Linked DNA regions of Homo sapiens: all the other regions are linked to region 1. Evidence: promoter capture Hi-C in 16 types of primary human blood cells and fetal thymus (Javierre and others, 2016). All regions are on one chromosome and are shown on one strand. Each heading gives the region's core, a stretch centred on a gene start or on the middle of the fragment in contact. The rest is flanking DNA. Distances are from core to core; before and after follow the strand shown. Region 1 holds the start of HEG1 (heart development protein with EGF like domains 1). Region 2 overlaps ZNF148 (zinc finger protein 148). Region 3 overlaps ZNF148 (zinc finger protein 148).

Region 1 (2,994 bases), core at 296-2,795:
ATTACTGTTTGGTACTTTCTTGGAGAGACCTGGAAGTTCTGTGTTAGAGCCCTGGAAAGCTGGTTTGTTTAAAAACAAAACAAAATAAAACCAAATCTTTACTCCTCATTCTCTCATTTAAGGTGAGTTTGTTTATACACAGCCTCCTTTATGTTTTTCTGCCAAATGACTCACTTGTACTGAGTCACCAGAAAGTGGGCCTAGGCCCATCTGCAGCTGCCCTGGACACTACGATCTCATTCTCCTGGAGGTGGGTCATGGAGATCTGGAGACAGAGAAAAAGAGAAGAGCAGAGAAATAGGATGGAGAGCCAGGCCTGACAGTGAGGTGCATACTCATATTTTCACGAGCATTTGGTTGTCAGACAGGGGCCCCCAACAGAACTCGCAAGAACCCCAAGGAGCTGCAACATTTGTTTCTGTTGCAATACTATTTGTTTCCGTTTGCGAATTATTGCAAACTCTGAATTAGGAGACCAGAATTAATAATATCACATGGTCATTCACAGATCAATCATTTCGTCTTCGGGTCTACCTTCAGAATCTTGAGCAAGTTATTTTCCCATTTGAGCCCCTCTTTCTTCACTTAATGAGGTGGCTTACAGTCCTAAACTTTAGACAGTTTATTATTCATTTACTGGGGAGGGAGAGGTTATGGAAACAAATGGAACTTTATTGACCAAGAAAATTTGTTTACATGAAATCTTTGAATCTTTCCCCATAGGTTTCCATTTAAAATTCTGTGTTCTCTGGGCATCATTTGGTTTAATTTGCGATCTGCAGTTCTTTTCCTGATGATGAGTTTGCCCTAGCCTGCCTGAATTCACAGTTTTCTTTTCCCTGCAGCCTGTTTGGGTGTCCTCGCGGTGACATCTCTGCAGAACTCTGGTGTGAGCCAAAGGCAGTGGTCGGATGGGAACGGCATCCAAGCTTGAGAGGGCGTGGGGGATACTCGGATTCTCGCGTTGGCCGGAGGGTGAGGTGTTAGGTTTGGCAAACACGAGCTCATCACCAGCCCTGGGGCCTGAAGAAGGGGAGGTGGGGGTGGGAGTGGGGACACTTCAAATCAATAACGGCGGTGACAGCGCGGGCTGGGTACCAGGGGACCGTTCCCTTTCTCTCTCCTATCAAAGCACTTGGGATAATCTAGTCTGGTGCTAATCACATTACCCAGGACCTGCTTTTCACCTACTTCTTGTGCGTTTAAGGAGTTGGGTAGGTGGTGCCCGATTCAGAAGACTCTGGAGCATGTGTGTGACAAAAGTTGCAGCACCGTGGCTCCGCTGACCTCATCCCGCTGTCCCGGGCCGGGCCGCTCTCCAGGCGCCCGGCCCCAGCCCCCTTCCTGCCCTCTCCCCGCCTCCGGGCCCGCCGCGCGGGGCCGGTGATGTCAACTGAGGAGGAGCCGCCCGCCAGCCAGCGACCCGCCCGGGCTAATTAGCATGTAGCGGCGCCGCGGGCCGCCTCCGCCCAGCCAGCCCGGCCCCCGGCAGCCCTCCCGCGGCTCCCGATAACTTTTGAGGCGGGGAGCGCGCTCGCAGCCTCACTCCGCTCACTTCCCCGGCCCCGCGCGGCCCCCGCCGCCCGCTGCCCGCTGCCCGCTGCCCTCGCCCCGCGCGCCGGGCATGTGAGCGCGGGCGGGCGCCGTCACCATGGCCTCGCCGCGCGCCTCGCGGTGGCCGCCGCCGCTCCTGCTGCTGTTGCTGCCGCTGCTGCTGCTGCCGCCGGCGGCCCCCGGGACGCGGGACCCGCCGCCTTCCCCGGCTCGCCGCGCGCTGAGCCTGGCGCCCCTCGCGGGAGCGGGGCTGGAGCTGCAGCTGGAGCGCCGCCCGGAGCGCGAGCCGCCGCCCACGCCGCCCCGGGAGCGCCGCGGGCCCGCGACCCCCGGCCCCAGCTACAGGGCCCCTGAGCCAGGCGCCGCGACACAGCGGGGACCCTCCGGCCGGGCCCCCAGAGGCGGGAGCGCGGGTGAGTGAGAGCCGGGAACCTGGCGCCTGGCCAGTCTGTGCTGGGGGCGTGGGCGCGCCCCGGGCTGCATCCCCAGCCGTAGGCCCCTCCGCGCGGCGCGACCCAGGGTGGGGGCTCCTCGCCCGGCGTGTGCGGGACCCTGAGGGTCGGCGGGTAGGGAGGGACGCTTTCGCAGTTGGCTGGACTGAGGGGTGTGACTATCCCGTTCTCCTCCAACCCTTTGGAAGAAAACTTATTTCCTATGGGGTACCCTGTATCTCTTCCACCCCACTTTAAAAAAAATGGAAAGGAAAGGGAAAAAGACTGCAAAGCATCTCTCCCACCTCCGATATCTGGCCAGCCGGTCCCCAGTTTCATTTTTTCCGCTATACAGAACTGGCCTCTCCAGGTACAGGGCTCGACTTTCTCATCTAAATAACTGATTTTTAAGGGGTTCTAGGACGGGATATTGTAAAGGACAAAGGATGTACGTAGTTTGAAACAAAACGCTCTACTGGTTCGACTTAAAAGCAAAGGAACGCGGTTGGGGTTGCATGGTTGAACCCCTGCAAGGCACAGGCTGATACAGGACCATCCCTGAGCCTCCTCCCTCCCCTTTCCTTTCCCAATGAACTGTTGCTCCGTGGTAGCCACCGCCTGTCCCACGCAGAGAGAAGGAACTGACCTCTTCTCCCTGCTACCTTTGTGTCCAGTTCTTTCTTATGATCTGGAAAAATATGCCACATACTGAGTGGAATTCTAACCATAATACCATTATGACCTTGGGACTGCTGTCTCTTTGCGCTCACTTTCTCCATCTGTGAAATGAAAGTGATGATCCCTGTTCCTTCTAGCCTCCTAGTGATGATGTGACAAAATGAAAGTAAAAATAAATGGAAAGTGCTTTGAACAAAGTCAGCAACGTGGTGGTGTTAGCCTTTGCCTTCCTGTGAGTGACACAGGGCATATGCTCTGTCCGGGCTATTCAAATAAGCTGGGTTGCTTGCAACACTGGACATTGATTTGGAGTTTCCCTGAAAGTTGAGTT
Region 2 (3,070 bases), core at 167-2,666, 260 kb before region 1:
TTGTGTTAGCAGCTATTGAAATAGATATTTGTTTAAACATCCTTTCTTGTTAGCACTGATCAGAGACCATTTTGTCCAGTTACCATTATTATAAATGATGTTCCTATTAGGATATTTTGAAATAGTAGTACTTTAAAAATTAACATGGTTTAGAAGATATGTTTTATAGATACAAAATGGTAGTTATACAGAGGTATATCTGAAGAGGTCTTTGAATGTACTTAGACAAGAAATAGATTTTGTTTTATTAATAAGAGATGAAGTAGTTTCTGCTTAGATCAAAACTATACTTTTCAAGGATGAAAGCAAATACAAAACTTCTTCAGAATAACAAATAGCAAATTTGTTAAAGGTTCTGGTATTAATCATGGGTTTCATCTCACCAAATGATCTGGAGGCCGGTTGATATTTGTATTTCTAATGCTGATATTTTTAAGGTATAATTTCTCACGGTTAGAAACATAGGTTAGAAATGTTAATATCCAAGTTAATGTAACTGGCATCCTCCAAATAACAGAGTGCTTTGGATCAGAAGTAATTTGTGAAATCTAGCTTTTTTCTTTTACCTGTTTTCAGAACAAGTTCCTTTGAGTGCTTCTCTTGGCTTACAAGTGAAGTTTCATTTTAGATTGAATGGGTTCTGTTACAAAGTCAGGGGAAGAGGTATTACTGAATTTGTGAGAATATTTTAAGTTGGGAATTACTCTTTTTATACAAAAGACGATGATGATTAGGTTCAGAAGCTTGCCTATTATAACCTGCTTTGACTCATAGTTGAAGTTCCATATTATTCAAAAAAGTTTATGGAAAATAATATTACTACCAAACTCAATAAATGAAACAGAAACGTAGGATCTCTAAGTGAGAAATATTTATTTCTTTCATGCTCAAATGCAGATTAATTAAAGGTAATAAGTGACACATGGATGTTCATATACATTCAGAAAGGGAACTTGGTGCTTTAAAAAATTTTAGAGCATATAGCACAAGCCTTCAAATCTGTTTTCATTTTAAAATGTACAGCCCTCTTTTTTTGATACAGGTGTATCATTAGGACTGACTGGTTTTACATTTATTAGCCATATTTAGGATTATTTTTAAATTTTCAATTGGAATGGGAAGGTAGAGAGATTTTCCTGGTAAGGCTTTGAGAAAACAGAGGGAGGAAGGTAGCTTAAGAAGATACATTTAAACACATGAAAAAGAAAGAATGGCTGAGGAGAAATTCACTGAGATATGAGTAACAGATAGAAAATTGGAAAATAGAAAACGTGGAAAGTGTTGAATCCTCCCACAGGAGAAAAGGGGATTCTGTGTCGGAAAGTTCTCCCATAGTAGCCATGAGGTGGAGTAGTCAGCTAAGGACAGTTTGATTGCTTTGCCAAGCCAAGCAATGATGACAGAAGGCCTTAAGAGCAGGTGGTGAGAGGACAATGAGAGTTCAACTACTTCCTAATGTGTCCAGGGCCTTTTAAAGTCAGGAAATAGTGTGATAAGGTAAAAAGTGCATTGAGTCAGGTAAGTCTGGTTTGAAATCCCAGTTTACTTCTGAGCTATGTATCCTTGGGTAAGCCCCAATTTGTCTGTTAAATGGGGATATGCTGTTACTGTCTTGAGGGTTATTGTAAATATTAAGTAAGGTAATATATTTAAAGGTGCCCAGCACAGTGTCTTACATCTCAGCACACATTAGTTGTCTTTCCTCTCCAGGTTTTCATAATTTCTGAATTTTAGAATACAGACATAAACATATTAATTTGGAAAGACCTCATTAATTGTATAAAACTCCCATTACAAAAAACCTCAGCAAGCATTTTTTTCCCAGTTTTTAATTGACCCTTGTAGAACAAGCAAGCATTTTTAAGAGCCTTGTATATTTGATTAAAAATGAGTAGTAGTGCCCAACTTGTCCATTTGTAATGCTTCTGTTAACTTTGTCCTCTGAAGATGAGCCCAGACAGTTCCCCGAGTTTTGGACATAATTGTCAAAAACATTTGTATTAAAAGCCTATGTATTTAATTCCTTATTAAAAGCCCCGACCGAAAACTGTTTACTCTGTTTCAACTTAATATAAATCTATAAAGCTTAGTTTTTAATTACTTACACATAATTGATTAGAAACATTAAATTAGAAGGTGACCACAAGAAGAGTCAGCTATTTCTTCTGGTAGACAGGAGAAAGGTAATGGCAGATAATTTACGTTCTTTTTAAGTAGCCCTCTGCCACTAGGCTTAAATGACTAGAGGGTTACCTAAGCCACTGCAGTTAGGCTTTTACACAGCTGAACTAAACACGTGTCAATAGGAAGGATGTTAGGTGTGTGGGGGGGTTGGGAGTGGGAGCAGGGAGGGGAAATTTAATGGAACTGGAAGTTGTGTTGTGGCCCCCTAGATACCCCTGTAGACAGTTTCTCTCGCAGAGGGATGGTGATGAGGGAAGAATAAATCATGGAAGCGGGGGAAGAATGCAGAATTTGAAGTAATCTGCGAAAGGGAGATTTAGGAGAAATTGGCCTGAGTTGGTCTCCTTCCTTTCTCTTTCCTGCTCCGTTGTAGTTTTCATCATTCTCTGCTCTGGGTAACTTGCAGTGCAGAGGAAGGATTGCCTCTCACTCTTAGCTGAATTAGCCCTTGGACATCATTTTCCAGTCTGTCTTGGTTCTTAACAGCGCTGCCATTTTGTACTCTGTGGTGTCAGCTGCCTAAGGTCTCTACAAGATAAAGGGTCTTCACAGGGAGCTCAGAGTGGCTTATTACTCCACGTATTTTCTTTTCTTTCCAGTTGGATAGAGGTTCCTTGAAGCTGAAATTAATTGTTTAGTTTTTTTTTCCCTTCCAAATCAGTCTTCCATGTGAGTAATAAGATTTAAAGGAAGCATTCTTTCTTTCCTCCTCTCTTCTGTGTAGTATCCCTAGCCCCTGACTTTCCATTAATTATACACACATTTGGATTAGAAAGCAGTTGGCTTTTTGAGGAGTTAACAGGAAGAGACAGTTAATTATTTACATATTAGTGTGGCTTGATTACCTCAGTTTTCTTTCTTTACACTTGGCTGATCCTCCCTAAAA
Region 3 (3,011 bases), core at 126-2,625, 290 kb before region 1:
CATACAGTAGTTCTATTTTTAGTTTTGTGAGGAACCTCTGAACTTTAAAAAAAATATTATGCACCATTTTGCATTCCTATGAACAGTACACAGGGTTTACAATTTCTCCATCCTTGCCAATACTTGTTATTGTTATTTTTGGATAATGGTTGTTCATACAAGTTCATGTATCTTTTTGGTATAATGATTTCTTTCTTTTGGATATACACCCAGTAATGGGATTGTGGGGTCAAATAGTAGCTCTGTTTTAAGTCTGTTTGTTTTTTGAGACAGGGTCTGGCTCTGTCATCTGAGCTGTAGTGCAGTGGTGAGATCATAGCTCACTGCAACCTCAAACTCCTGGACTCAAGTGATCCTCCTGCCTCAGCCTCCTGAAGTGCTGGGATTACAGGTGTAAACCACCACATCTGGCCTGTTTTAAGTTTTTTGAGAAATCTTGAAGTTGTTTTCCACAGTGGCTGAACTAATTTACATTTCCACCAGCAATATTTAAGTGTTCCCTTCTCTTCACAGCCTCACCAACATCTGTTAGTTTATGATTTTTAATAATAGCCATTCTTACTGGTGTGAGATGGTATCTCATTGTGGTTTTGATTTGCATATTCCTGATGATTACTGATGGTGAGCATCTGCTTATATACCTGTTGGCCTTGTGTATGTTGTCTTTGAATAAATATTTTTTCAGGTCCTTTTCCCATTTGAAAAGCAGGCTATTTGTTATTTTTTGCTATTGAGTTGTAGGAGTTCCTTGTATATTGTGGATTTTAGCCCCTTAGCAGATGTGTAGTTGCAAATATTTTTTCCCATTTCATAAGTTGCCTAGTTGCTCTGTTGATTGATCTGTTTGCTCTGCGAAGCTTTTTAGTTTGATGTAATCTCACTTGTCTGTTTTTACGCTTGTTGCCCGTGCTTTTGGTGTCAAATCCTAGAAATCATGGCTGTGCCATGAAGCTTTTCTCCCATGTTTTCTTCTAGGAGTTTTACAGTTTCAGGCCTTATTAAAGTTTCTAATCTATTTTGAGTTGACTTTTATGTATGGTGTAAAATGAGGGTCAAACTTCAATTCTTTTTCATATAGCTGCCCAGATTTCCCAGTACCATTTATTGAAGAGACTGTTCTTTTCCTGTTGTGGATTCTTGGCACCTTTCTTGAAGATCAGTTGCCTCTGTATGCCTGGGTTTATTTCTGGGCTTTCTGTTCTGTTCCATTGGTCTGTATGTTTTGTTTTTATGCCAGTACCATACTGTTTTAATGTGTTTTGAAATCAGGAAGTGTGAGGCCTTTAGCTTTGTTGTTCTTTTTCAAGATTGTTTTGGCTACATTCGGGGGCTTTTGTGGTTCTGTTTGGGTTTTAGGATTGTTTTTGTATTCCTGTAAAAAATGCCATTGGGGTTTTCATTGAGATCGTATTGAATCTGTACATCGCTGTGAGTAGTATGGACATTTTAACATTAAGTCTTCTAATCCATGAACATGGGATGTGTTTCCATTTATTTGTGTCTTCAATTTCTTTCATCAGTGTTTTGTAGTTTTCAGTGCATACAAGTCTTTGCCTCCTTAGTTAAGTTTAAGTATTGTTTTTGATGCTGTTGCTGTTGGATAGCTTTTTTTTTTTTTTTTTTTTTGAGACAGGGTCTTGCTTTTTTTCCTGGGCTGGAGTGCAGTGGTGCTATCACAGCTCACTGCAACCTTGGCGTCTCGGGCCCGAGTGATCCTCCTGTCTCAGCCTCCTGAGTAGCTGGGACTATAGGTATGCGCCACCACACTAGACTTTTCTTGTGACACTTTTGAAGCTTCACCTGTTACTTATAGGTCTTTAATTCATTTAACTAATTTTTTTTTTCTTGGAGACAAGGTCTTGCTCTGTCACCCAGGCTGGAGTGCAGTGGCACGATCAAGGCTCACTGCAGCCTTGATCTCCCAGGCTCAAGCAATCCTCCAGCTACAGCCTCCCGAGTAGCTGGGACTATGGCACATGCCACCACGCCCAGCTAATTTTTGTATTTTTTTTTTGGTAGAAATGACGTTTTGCCATGTTGCCCAGGCTGGTCTCAAGCTCCTGGGCTCAAATGATCCACCTGCGTTTGCTGGGATAACAGGCATGAGCCACTGAGCCAGGTCTTTAATCCATTTAGAGTTAATATTTGTATATGGGATGATGAAGGTATCCAGTTTCATTCTTTTGCATGTAGATATTCCTTGGTTCTAGCACTGGTTTGTTGAAAAGACTTCTTTCTCTACTGAATTGTCTTGGTGTCAAAAAATTGGTTGACTTAGCCTGGTGCAGTGGGCACACTCCTGTAGTCTCAGCTGTTTGGGAGGCTGAGATAGGAGGATCTTTGAGCCCAGGAGTTCGAGTCCAGCCTGGGCAACATAATGAGACCCCACCTCTATAAAAAGAATACATAAAATTAGGAGGCTGAGGCAGGAGAATCACTTGAACCCAGGAGGTGGAGTTTGCAGTGAGCTGAGATCGTGCCACTGCACTCCAGCCTGGGTGACAGAGTGGGACCCTGTCTCAGAAAAAAAAAAAAAATAATACATAAAATTTAACAAAAAAGATTGACCATAAATTTAGTTATTTAAGTCTGGACTCTAAATTCTATTCCTTGATCTATATGTTTATCTTCATGCCAGTACCACAGTGTCTTGATTACTGTAGCTTTGTTAGTTTTAAAATCAGAATGTATGCATCCTTTAACTTTGTTCTTTTCTTTCAAGATCGTTTTGGATTTTCTTGGTCCTTTGCAATTCCATATGAATTTTAGCATTAGTTTGTCCATTTCTGCAAAGAAAGGTTCTGGGGTTTTGATATGAGTTGCACTGAATCAGTAGGTGATTTGGTGAAGTATTTTCCTCTTAACAATATGAAATTTTTCAATCCATGAACATTAGATGTTTGTTTAGGTCTTTGTTAATTTCTTTCAGGGATGTTTTGTAGTTTTCAGTGTACATGTCTTGTACCTGTTTTGTTAAATTTATTACCAAGTACTTTATTTTTTTCCTGCTA

Evidence for each region. The method cuts DNA at HindIII sites, captures the fragments that hold promoters and counts their contacts. A CHiCAGO score of 5 or more calls a contact.
Region 2: a contact is called between a fragment that was not itself captured here and the fragment with the promoter of HEG1 in region 1, in 2 of 17 cell types (naive CD4 T cells and activated CD4 T cells). The highest score is 6.3, in naive CD4 T cells.
Region 3: a fragment that was not itself captured here is called in contact with the fragment with the promoter of HEG1 in region 1 in 3 of 17 cell types (naive CD8 T cells, total B cells and activated CD4 T cells); the score reaches 6.8 in naive CD8 T cells.

What each region holds. Positions count from the first base shown.
Region 1 is chr3:125,054,548-125,057,541 of GRCh38, reverse strand. It overlaps HEG1 (heart development protein with EGF like domains 1), which reads left to right and starts at 1,545. Exons shown (of 17, transcript NM_020733.2): 1 at 1,545-1,967. The coding sequence starts at 1,652. RefSeq lists an enhancer at 982-1,031 and silencers at 1,282-1,661, 1,742-1,831, 1,892-2,051. The HindIII fragment of the contact is 2,339 bases long and covers 932-2,994 here.
Region 2 is chr3:125,318,267-125,321,336 of GRCh38, reverse strand. All of the region lies in intron 3 of ZNF148 (zinc finger protein 148), which reads left to right. Among named protein-coding and RNA genes, the nearest start is that of ZNF148, 56 kb to the left of the region's middle. The HindIII fragment of the contact is 1,342 bases long and covers 746-2,087 here.
Region 3 is chr3:125,347,096-125,350,106 of GRCh38, reverse strand. All of the region lies in intron 1 of ZNF148 (zinc finger protein 148), which reads left to right. Among named protein-coding and RNA genes, the nearest start is that of ZNF148, 27 kb to the left of the region's middle. The HindIII fragment of the contact is 843 bases long and covers 954-1,796 here.